Regions from separate parts of the Homo sapiens genome. Here region 2 is linked to region 1. Evidence: promoter capture Hi-C in 16 types of primary human blood cells and fetal thymus (Javierre and others, 2016). All regions are on one chromosome and are shown on one strand. The core of a region is centred on a gene start or on the middle of the fragment in contact, and the rest is flanking DNA. Distances in the headings are between cores, read along the strand shown. Region 1 holds the start of CRTAP (cartilage associated protein). Region 2 has its middle 13 kb from the start of OXSR1.

Region 1 (5,975 bases), core at 763-3,262:
TAGCTTAAAAAATGATGCTTTGTATGAACCAGCCCTCATTTTCAACATTCTGGAATTTTATTAATCTCATTCCCTGCTTCTGTTTTAAAACTGTTTTTTTTTAATTGCCAGAACAAACATTCACAAAACTGATACTTTAAATAAAACTGTAACTAAGCATAGAAGTATAGAAGTAACCCAGCTTTTCCCCTCTTTGGGGTTTTGTGTTATTTTATTGCTCATATAAATACAATATACACGTGGCTCTGTCTCGGTGGAAATCTGAAAAAACAGATCTTGCAGTCCAGAAACTGAAAACAAAGTTTAAAAACAAAAACCTTCTACCTCAAGAGTCTAGGATATGCCATGAATCTATTTTTGTAGTAATTTTAAAAAACACAATATATTCCTTTTAAAATCTTTCTCAGAGAAAGTAGAAACTGGGCTTTGAGAGGGCTCTTTTAGCCAAACCCTGTGAGGACCCACCAAGCTAGAGCCTCTTTATCTAGTGACAGGGAATCTAACCATTCTTAAAACTTGTGGGTCCTCGGAGTGAGAACCCATAGGATAGAGAACTGCAATTTGTGGCTATTTTTAGCCAGCAATCACAGAGAGAACTTAAGCAGCCATTAAAAGGAGGCAGTGAACTGTGTTAAATTCTAGATGAAAGAGAGAAACAGCGGAGAGGGCCAATCCTGATGACTCACGGTGCACGAGTTCCCCTTTAAGCAGGGATGTGTCCTTGCAAGGAGTCCCTGCCCTTCCCTGGCCTCAATTTCATCCTCTTTAAAAGGAACTAGTCAGCTGGGTGCAATGGCTCACGACTGTAATCCCAGAACTCTGGGAGGCGAGGTGGGAGGATCACTTGAGTCCGGGAGTTCGAGATCAGCCTGGGCAACGTGGCGAAACTCTGTCTCTACAGAAAATACCAAAAAATTAGCTAGGTGTGGTGGCGCGCGCCTATAATCCCAGCTACTCAGGAGGCTGAGGTGGAGGATCACCTGAGCCTGAGGAGGTCAAGGCTGCAGTGAGCCATGATAGCGCCTCTGCACTCCAGCCTGGGCGACTGTGAGACCCTGTCTCAACAAAAAATAAAAATAAAAGGTACTTGTCGGCTCCTCAGGTCTTCTGCTTTATTATCGCAAGTCACCGCTCACTTGAGAAAAAAGGCGACTTTAATGGTATATACAGAAAAGAGGCGTCTGCCCTCAAATAACAGAGAACATTTATCAGGCACTTTGTTGGGTGCCTGGCGCTGTACTGCGTTCTGTGTACGTATTCTCTACCTTAGAGTTACCCTTCAAGAAAGGCATTTTCATCTCTAGTTGAGATGAAGAAGGAGACAGGACTTGGAGGAGACCTTTGGCAGGGCTGGATGGGAGGGAGCCAGGTCTAGAACTGGAGGGGCAACGCGGCCCCGGGCGCAGGGGCGGGGCTAGGGCCTGGAGGCTGGGTCAGGGGCGGGGCCGGGGCCTGGGACGGGGCGAGGCGGACTTGCCTTGAAGTAAGCGAACTGCAGGAACTTGTAGGGCTCGCGGCGCTGGAAGTCCGCCAGCACCTCGCGGCTGGGCTGGGACTGGCGGAAGGCTGGCAGGCCCTGCTTGCAGCGCTTGAGGCAGTGCGCGCGGCGCAGCAGGCCCCCGAAGAGGCGCAGCTCGGGATAGCTGGCGAGGCCGGCGGCGGGCTCGGGCTGCGGCGCGGCGCTGCAGTTGCGGTGGCAGAAGGCCTCGCTGTCGCGCAGCAAGCGGTGCAGCCGCAGGCTGATCTCCAGGTAGCCCACGCTCTCGGCCCAGTGCTCGCCGCTGTACTTGTCCAGCGCGTGCCGGTAGGCCGACTCGAGCGGCATCAGCTCGTCCCGTGGGAAGCTGCGGAAGCTGTAGCGTTCGTATTGGGCGCGCCCGGCGCGCAGCGCGCAGGCCACGCACAGCAGCGCTAGCAGCGCCGCGGCCCCCCGGCGCCCCGGCTCCATCGCGCCCGGCGAAAGGAAGGAAGGAAGGGACGAAGGAAGGGAAAAGGGGAGGGAGAAGGAAAGGAAAGAGGACGGTGCGACGCGGCGGGCCCAGTGCTTTCGGGGCGGGGACGCCAGCCTCCGGCCCGCCCCGTCCGGCCGCCCCTCCCCACCCAGCCGGGGGATCTGGGCGCCAGCTGCCAGCACCTAGAGGGTGCCCGGGAAAGGCGCGCTGCGCACTGGTTCACGCAGGCTGATGCGCATGATGGGACTCTGCCGCTCATTCACTTGGAGACCCGCCTGCAAGGCCGACGCGGCCCTAATAGATTATATACATCGGCCCTACGGTCTATATAATCTACGATCTTTATATTCGTTTGGAGGTTTGTGAAAACGAAGATTCCTGGGCTGTGCCCCCAGAGTTTCTGATTCAGAAAGTCTGGGGTGGAGGTCTGACGATTTGTGTGTTTAACCAGCACCCTGATGAGGCTAATGCTGCGGGCCCAAGGGCCGCACTTTTAATAGCACTGCCCAACCTTAAATTTTAGTGAGAGAAAAAGACAGTGCAAAAATAAAATTAATAAGGATGTCAGCACTTTGTAAACTGTATAGCTAGTCAGGTTGAAGATGTGCACACCTTATGAATCTGCAACACCATTCGGTGGAATATGCTGGAGAAGCTTGCGCGTGTGCATCAAAAAATATGGATGGAATGTTAATGGCAGCACTTTTAAAAAATCTTTAAACTTTTAAATCTTGAAATAATTTACAAGAAAGCTGCAAAAACAGTACAAAAAGTTCCTATATACCCTTCATCAAGATTCACAAGTTGCTAACGTTATACCACATTTCTATCTTTACATTTTTTTCTGACTCATTTGAGATAGGTTGCATGTATCAGGCCCACTGTCCGTTAGTCTTTTTTTTTTCTTTTTTTTTTTCCTTTTTTTTTTTTTGAGACGGAGTCTCGCCCTGTCACCCAGGCTGGAGTGCAGTGGCGCGATCTCGGCTCACTGCAACCTCCGCCTCCCGGGTTCAAGCAATTCTCCCTGCCTTAGCCTCCCGAGTAGCTGGGATCATAGGCACACACCACCATACCTGGCTAATTTTTCTATTTTTTACTAGAGATGAGGTTTTGCCATGTTGGCCAGGCTGTTCTTGAACTCCTGACCTTAGGTGATCTACCTGCCTCTGCCTCCCAAAGTGCTGGGATTACAGGCGTGAGCCACCGTGCCCAACCCCTTAGTCTTTCAGTATGTATGTCCTAAGAATGAAACTACCAGACAATCAAATTTAGGAAATTTAATACTGATAGAAGACTTTAATCATGTTCCATTTCCGGTTATGTCAGCTGTTCCAATTATGTCTTTCATGGCACTTTTTTCTCTTAGGATGCAGTCCATCCGTGATCACTGTTACATCTAGTCTATTTCATATCCTTTAAACTGGTTCCTCGGCTTTTCTTGTCATGCCGTTGTCATTTTTGAAAAATATAGGCCAAAACAGCAATGAGATACCACTACAAAATCCAAAACACTGACAACGTCACATGCTGACAAGGATGTGGAGCAACAGGAACTCTCATTCATTGATAGTGGCAATGCAAAATGGTACATACAGTTTAGAAGACAGTTGGGCCGTTTCTTACAAAACTAGGCATACTCTACTCATACAATCCAGAAATTGCACTTCTTGGTATTTACCCAAATGGGTTAAAACTTATGCACACACCTGCGAATGGATGTTTGTAGCAACTTTATTCACAATTACCATAACTTGGAATCAACCAAGATGTCCTTCAGTGGGTAAGTGGATACATAAACTGTGGTATATACACACAATGGAATTTTATTCCAAGCCAAAAAGAAATGAGCTATCAAGCCATGAAAAGACATGGAGAAGTCTTAAATGCATATTACTGGTTGAAAGAAGCCAAACTGAAAAGGCTACATACTGTGTGATTCCAGCCAAATGACATTCTGGAAAAGGCAAAACTATGGAGACAGTAAAAGGATCAGTGGTTGCTGAGAATTATGGAAAGGGAGGAATGAATGGGTAGAGGACAGGATTATTGGAGCAGTGAAACTATTCTATATGATAGTATAATGGTGGATATATGCTATACATTTGTTAAAATCCATAATATGTACAACACTAAGAGTGAGCCCTAATGTAAACCGGACTTTGGGTGATAACGATGTGTTGATGTAGGTTCATTGATTGTAACAAATGTACCATTCTAGTGCAAGACATTGACAGTGGGGGAGCTTGCGCATGTTGTAGGGTCATGGAGTATATTTGAACTCTGTAGTTTCCGCTCAGTTTCGCTATGAATCTAAAACCACTCTAAAAAATAAAGTCTTTTTTTTGTTTTTTGTTTTGTTTTGAGATGGAGTCTCGCTCTGCTGCAGAGGCTGGAGTGCAATGGCATGATCTCAGCTCACTGCAATCTCCACCTCCAGGGTTCAAGCGATTCTCCTGCCTCAGCCTCCTGAGTAGCTAAGATTACAGGCCCGTGCCACCATGCCAGGCTAATGTTTGTATTTTTAGTAGAGACTGGTTTCACCGTATTGGTCAGTCTGGTCTCAAACTCCTGACCTCATGATCCACCTGCCTCGGCCTCCTAAAGTGCTGGGATTACAGGCATGAGCCACCGCGCCTGGCCTTTTTTTTTTTTTTTTTTTAAAGAACACAGGCCAGTTAACTTTATAAAAAGTTCCTCATTTGAGGTTTTCCTGATGTTTCCTCATGACTAAATTCAGATTAAGCTCATGACTAAATTCAGATTAAGCTCATGACTAAATTCAGATTAAGCTCTTTGGCTAGAATGCCACAGAAGCAATGTGCCATCCGTCTCAGGTGTAAAATCTAAATAACACAATGCCCACCCCTTGTCTGTGTTAATTTTGATCACTTTATTAAGGTGATGTCTGTTTTCCCTACTTCATTTGTTTTCTTTTGTAATTAACAAGTGTCTACAGTAAGGTAACGCAACATTGTTCTTAATGGCAGAAAGCAGGAATAACCTGTCCATAAACAGAAGAGTAGATTTAAAAAAAAATGAGAGTAAATGCATATAGAAGAATATATTATAGCAGGGAAAATGAAAGAATTAGAGCTACAAATAACAGTTCAATCTGGGGGCGGGGGGGAACCATTGAGAATGATTCCATTTGCCTAAAGTTTTTTTGTTTGTTTGTTTTTTGTTTTTTGTTTTTTTTTTTTTGAGACAGAGTCTCGCTCTGTCGCCCAGGCTGGAGTGCAGTGGCGCCATCTTGGCTCACTGCAACCTCTACCGCCCGGGTTCAAGCGATTCTCCTGCCTCAGCTTCCCGAGTAGCTGGGATTACAGGCACCTGCCACCACACCCAGCTAATTTTTTTTTTTTTTTTTTTAAGACTGAGTCTCACTCTGTCGCCCAGGCTGGAGTACAGTGGTGCGATCTCGGCTCACTGCAACCTCTGCCTCCCAGTTTCAAGCAATTCTCCTGCCTCAGCCTCCTGAGTAGCTGGGATTACGGGCGCCCGCCACCACAGCTGGCTAATATTTTGTATTTTTAGTAGAGATGGGGTTTTACCATGTTGGTCAGGCTGGTCTCAAACTCCTGACCTCAAGTGATCCACCCATCTCGGCCTCCCAAAGTGCTGGGATTACATGCGTGAGCCACTGCACCCGGCCTGCACCTGGCTAATTTTTGTAGTTTTTAGTATAGACAGGGTTTCACCATCTTGGCTAGGCTGGTCTTGAACTCCTGACCTTGTGATCCATCCACCTCGGCCTCCCAAAGTGCTGGGATTACAGGTGTGAGCCACCACGCCCGACCCTAAAGTTTTAAAATATGGAAAAACACACAATGTATTATTTAGGAGTAAAAATAATATAGTCCTACCTTATACAGGGTAAAACTATATTGAAAAGAGAATGATAGGCTGGGCGCGGTGGCTCACACCTGTAATCCCAGCACTTTGGGAGGCCAAGATGGGTGGATCACTTGAGGTCAGGAGTTGGAGACCAGCCTAGCCAACATGGTGAAACCCTGTCTCTACTAA
Region 2 (5,922 bases), core at 2,487-4,986, 5.0 Mb before region 1:
TATTCATAAATATTCATGTGCTCTTTCTAAGTATGTTTCAAAATTTAAATTCGATTTCATATTTCAGGTAATACCAGTGTTTATGGCACCCCCACCCCAGCCCTTCCTCTCTTTCACTCTGAGGAGACACCAACATGCTCCATTCCCACCTGGTCTCATTGTGCCTCCTTCAGCCCCTGTGCTCAGCTTATTACTCCTTCCAGGAATGCCACTTTTCTTTGGCTCCACCTGTCCAGGTCTTACCTGCTCTGCCCGGTTCAACTGATGACCCACCCTCCCTGCTCCACCCACATCCCTTGGAATGCTTTTTCTGAGATTGTTCCAGCCCTGAGGGCAGTTGTATATGCTTACCACCTCCCTCAGACCATTTCTGGGTACTTAGCCTGTGGTGCCATGTACCCATAGTCTTCTCTTTTTGTGAATATTCTGTATTTCAAATTAGGTTGTAGGTCCCCTGTGAGGAGTGGAAATACCCTATGACTAGAAAGGAAGTAAGGCATTTTTCTGGGGTTTTCGTTTTTTGCCCACCTTAAGTCCTGTCAGCATAATGACAGTCTGAAAACTTATGAAGAGCTGATTTTCTCCCCTTTTTAGGAAAATCTGCATAAAATATGCTATTCAACTCTCAGCCTTGGGCAGGAGTATCTCTGAGAGGCAGCTATAATTTATAAAACATTCAAAACTACAGGTACCATCACTATCTAAACCCAGGAACTGAATATTCATATTTATTTTCAGATAACTTGGTATCCCCCACTCTCTGAACTCAGGAGCTGAATAGATTCAGACAGCATGTAATATAATGCCTACTTTCATAACATGAATTCAGATAAAAAGCCCTGAGCAGCCATTAGATTTAAGTGCTAGGCAACACGCTAAGGGATATAAACACCTCATTTAATCAGTAAAATAGCCTTGTGAAGTTTTATGCCAGTTTTACGGATGAGAAAACTCAGAAATGTTAAGAAACTTGCTCCAGAAATTCCTGGAAATGCTTAGCACAGTGCCTGGCTTATTTTAAGTGTTGAATAAGGGATAGCCAGTAATTATAGGTTGATGGAAATAGAATGAAGCATTACAGAGACAAAGATTGGGCAACAATGCTGAATGGTTTGACTCAGGTCTGCTTACTCAGGAAAAACAGGAAAAACAGACATCTGTGTGATGTCATTCACACCATACCACTGCTGCATCATTGCTTGCCCATGGCACTGCCTAATTTCTTATTGCAAAATCTGATTAAGGAAATAGAAGTTTTCTATTTGATTCCCAGTGGATTGTGAAGCTTTCTTTGCTTTGTACCCAACCTGAACAAATGAATTAGGGTTCAGGGTCTACCAAAATTAGAGAGGGCTCTGCCTGTGTAAGCTTTGAATTGGAATTTTTAAGACATCAGGAAATGGGAACTAAAGTGCCCCTTAGTCTCGATCAAATGCAATTCACAAATATTTATGAACGATTCTCCGTGTGCACAGCTGTGAGCAATCTACCTAAAGAGATCATTTTCCAGTGTCCAAAGGGGCCTAGGCCCCCAGAACTGGCACCGTTTTCCTGGTGAATGGCAGTGGACCCCATCCAGCAGGCAGTGAAGACGTTATCCTCCTATTATGGGTAACCTGGTCTCTCTTAGGTAAATGCTAATTCAATTAGCTCTGCAGTGTCTAGTTGAGCATGAGTGTAATATTGACATAGAATTACATATAACTGTCCTACAGAATGCCCTGCCCAAAAACTTAACCCCTTCAAATCCTAGATAGAAAAAGAGCTTCCTGTGCCCCATGAAGGCATGGGGAGGTGTTGTGGAGGCCTGTACAGAGAGTTGGAATGAAAGCCTACAGAGGTGAGACTTAGTGACTGAAAGAAAATGGTTGGAACTATAGACTTCAGTGCTGGATGCTGGCATCACATTCCTAAGGCCAGATGAGGCCCGCTGCATCTCAGCAGGTGACACATAGCAAGTCAGGAATCAAATCAGGTCAGGCACTCCATGCCAGAGCCAGAGGACAGTACAAGGACCTGCTCACAGAGATCCAAGGCAACTCTTTCTTTCTACCACAAGGTCACGTGAGTCTTCTCTTTCCCAAACTCCCAGACACCATCTTGGCAAGATGAAGGGAGAAGGGAAGGAGGCCTAAAAAACAGCATTTGCCTAAGAGTGATCAAGTTACCCACAACGACACCAAAAAAATCTGATAATATTATTAATTGGCAAGCTAAATTTCCCCTTCCCACCCAGCAGGGCAAGGGTGCATGCAAAAGATTAAATTACGCAAAACAAAGAAGCTACATTGTCTTCTCACCTCTGAGTTATAAATGTGCATACCTACTCTAATGATTTTTATGCTTTAAGTTACAGAGCAGACATATGAATTGTCTGGTTACAGCTAGTCCTTCAGTGAAGCTGGAAACACCCACACAGTTATTGGTAGAGCAGGAAAGGGAGCCCTTGTGACAGGAGCAGTAGTGATTCAGGGCAGACTAAAGATGGGCCCAGTGTTCAACAGCAAAGTGGGCAGAACCCACAGCAGAACAGGAAGCAGACTATCAGTGGACATGGAGGGACTGGGGTTGCAGGAGCACTGCAAGGGGCTTGCAACAAACCCATTTTGTCTCGGTTGCTCGTGACAGAAAACCCAAAGTTCATTAGGATGCCAGCATTCTTGCTGTAACATTGGCCAGATAGAAATGCATTTCACTTTGGCTGGGTACCGTAACTCTTGCCTGTAATCCCAGCACTTTGTGAGGCCGAGGTGGATGGACTGCTTGAGCTCAGGAGTTCGAGACCAGCCTGGCCAACATGGTGAAACCCTGTCTCTACTAAAAATACAAACATTAGCAGGGTGTGGTGGTGTGCACCTGTAATCCCAGCTACTCAAGAGGCTGAGGCAGGAGAATCGCATGAGCCCGGGAGGCGGAGCTTGCAGTGAGCTGAGATTGCACCACTGCACACACCAGCCTGGGTGACAGAGTGGGACCCTGCCTAAAAAAAAAAAAAAAAAAAAAAAAAAGGAAAGAAATCACTCTGACATAAAAGTCTGAGTGTAAGCAGTCCTGAGTGGTAGTTCAACTCTGTAGTGTCAGGGACCCAGGCTCTACCGATTTCATCTCTGCCATCCTCAACATGCAGCTTCCAGCTCCCACCACCACACCCACATTTCTGCAGCATGAGATGGGTAGGTTTTGAAAATATCAGGCACACACCTTTCTGTTGAGGTCACAGACTAAAAGTTGAACATATCACTTCCTCTTACATCCCATTGCTCATAACTTAATCATATGACCATACAAAGGGCGTTGGTTAGTTATTGCCACAAAGATGCTGTGTGACAAACAACCACAAAATATCAGTGGTAGATAACATTAAGCATTTACTTCTTGTTCAAGTGTCTGCAGATCAGATTGTATTTGGCTGATCTAAGTTGGACTCAGCTGGGCTTGGCTCCAGGCTACTCCTGATACCAATTACTATGCCAGTCAGGTCCTAACAGGAAACAAATGGCACACTCAAAATGGACAATTTGAGGACAGTTTAATAAAGGAAGTATTCTCTCTCTACTCTCTGATCTCCCACTGATGCCTCCCATTGGCCAAGCCCAAGAGGAAACCTGTGGACAAGGGGAGCCGGTCAATACCTTGGGTCACAAAGCCTGGTGCAAAGAGCCATGCAAAGTCATGGGCAGGGAATAGGGAAACCAAATGGAATAGTGCAGTACTCTAGGGCCAACCACCTCCAGGAGCCATTATCATTCCTAGGCCTGACAGAGCAAGAGGACTAAGGCCTACTAGAAGCAGAGAAAGTAGGAGAGAGAGAAGACTGCCTGAAAGTAGCTGCAGCCTTTTGTAGAGAGGTGTAATCAGTCCTCAGCAATCCCACAAGAAGAGAGCCAAGGGAATAAATATCCTCACTTCATTCTCTTTCTGCTCTCTGATCTCCCACTGGTGCCTCCTACTGGCCAAGCCCAACAGGAAACCAGTGGGCAAGGGGAGCCTGTTGATGTAATCCTTGAAGGTCATTATCTTGGGGCACAGAGGCTGGTGGAGAACAAGGGAAGATGTGGAGGAGAAGACAGATAATATCTAGCACACAACTCAAACTATTTTAAACAAACAGAGAATTTGCTGGCTCACATATCTGAAAATTCTGGCAGTAAGTCTTGAAGCAGGGGCTCACATGATGTCTTCAGTATCTGGTTTTCTCTACAGGCTTCATACATAAACCTTCATACACAAATATAAATTCTGGAGCCACTTTGGAGCATGATGGCTCTCCTCCCATCACTCTCCAGAATTTAAAACCTTTTACATTCAATCACAGTCGAGCTACCAAAGGAGTCATTGTGTCTCACTGAATCTGTTCAAGTCACATGACATACCTGAACCAATCATAGTGCTCAAAAAAAAAGAGAGGTGCTCTTTGGTTTTGGTCTGTGTCTGGAGGGAAATCGTGGCGTGGAATCTAAATGAGGAGATGGAATGTTGATGGTGGGTAGCCAAAAACACTGTATTATCCTAGGTCTCTCTTCCCAAATGCATGGGGCAACGTTTCTCAACCTTTCTATATCTATTAATTACTTGGGGCTCCTATCAAAGTACAGAATGTATGAGTCAGGTTTGGAGTAGGGCCTGAGAGTCTTTATTTCTAATAAATGGTGTCAATATTACTGGTCCAGGGACCACACTTTGAGTAGCAGCGTTCTTTAGAAGCACAATCCAATATATAGTAGCCACTAGCCATATGTAGTGATTGAGCACTTGAAATGTGGCTAGTCCAAATTGAGATGTGCTGTAACTGTAAAATACACACAAAGTACCTTTTTAAGATTCAATGTGAAAACAATGTAAAATCTCATCAATAGTTTTTATATTGATTACATGTTGAAATAATATTTTAGAGATGACATTTTTATGTAAATGATATTTTACATATATTCTATATATTTTAGATCCTTAGGTTAAATAAAATATGTTATTAAAATTAATTTTGACTGTTTCTTACAACTTTTTTTAATGTGGCTGCTAGAAATTTTTCAATTATGTATGTGGCTCAGAATATCTTTCTGTTGGATAGCCCTGCTTTAGAAAGAGGTAACACCTGAAGCAGCTGAAGTTGTTGTTTTTAAAACACATTCATTTTCACTTATGGATAAGCAACCAGAGTAATCTCCTTTAACAAGAGCCACATGAGACCTATCTCATATGTCCTTGGCCTTGGCCCACCCTCATGACCTCAGGGATAGGTCATTGCAAGTTGAATTAATGCATGAGTGTTTAGGACAAGGAACACTGGAATGGGCCATTTGATCTGAGGAAGGAGGAAATTCTGGAGACTCCAGATTCTCCTTCCTATCCAGCAGTCACTTCATTTCTCATTTTTGTTTGAGCAGCTGCCTGAAGCAGAAACTACTACTGTGCTTATCAACTTCCCTAATCTGTCTTGCGTACGACCACTAAACTAATTTTCTCCACACTCTGGTTTTAACAATTCCTTCCTAACCAGACACGATCCATGCTCCCTGTTGCAGCCTGAGTTCCAGGGCCCCCAGTCATTCCTACTGAACCTGGAGGGTCTTATCCCACCAGTCTACTCCCTGCTCCTAAATATGCCTCTCACTTTCCCCTTCTGCTTAAATTATTTCTTTACTGCTTGAATCTCCTTCCCCTCTTGGTGTCTACCTGCCAATTCTACCACCTTCCAAAGCCCCTAAAGGTCATCTTTTCAAGACCTTTGTCCCACAGAGGCCTGTCTGCAGGACTTGTAGGACATACTGTCTTTGGCACCAGCCAGCACATATGTTATGGAGGACTCTGTTGCCTAACTCTTGAGTTCTTCAGATCTTCTGTGTTTGTGCTTCAATTATTCCACTGGGTTTTAAGTTTCTTGAGAACAGAGCCATGCCTAGCTTAGCTTTATATTCTGCTTTT

Evidence for each region. Contacts are between HindIII fragments. The CHiCAGO score rates a contact against its expected background, and 5 or more counts as called.
Region 2: a fragment that was not itself captured here is called in contact with the fragment with the promoter of CRTAP in region 1 in 1 of 17 cell types (M0 macrophages); the score reaches 5.1 in M0 macrophages.

What each region holds. Positions count from the first base shown.
Region 1 is chr3:33,110,051-33,116,025 of GRCh38, reverse strand. It overlaps CRTAP (cartilage associated protein), which reads right to left and starts at 2,012. Exons shown (of 7, transcript NM_006371.5): 1 at 1,478-2,012. The coding sequence starts at 1,948. RefSeq lists enhancers at 310-1,301, 4,182-4,391 and silencers at 1,253-1,442, 1,883-2,182. The HindIII fragment of the contact is 4,978 bases long and covers 1-2,609 here.
Region 2 is chr3:38,149,394-38,155,315 of GRCh38, reverse strand. No RefSeq gene overlaps it. Among named protein-coding and RNA genes, the nearest start is that of OXSR1, 13 kb to the left of the region's middle. RefSeq lists an enhancer at 1-206. The HindIII fragment of the contact is 4,731 bases long and covers 1,371-5,922 here.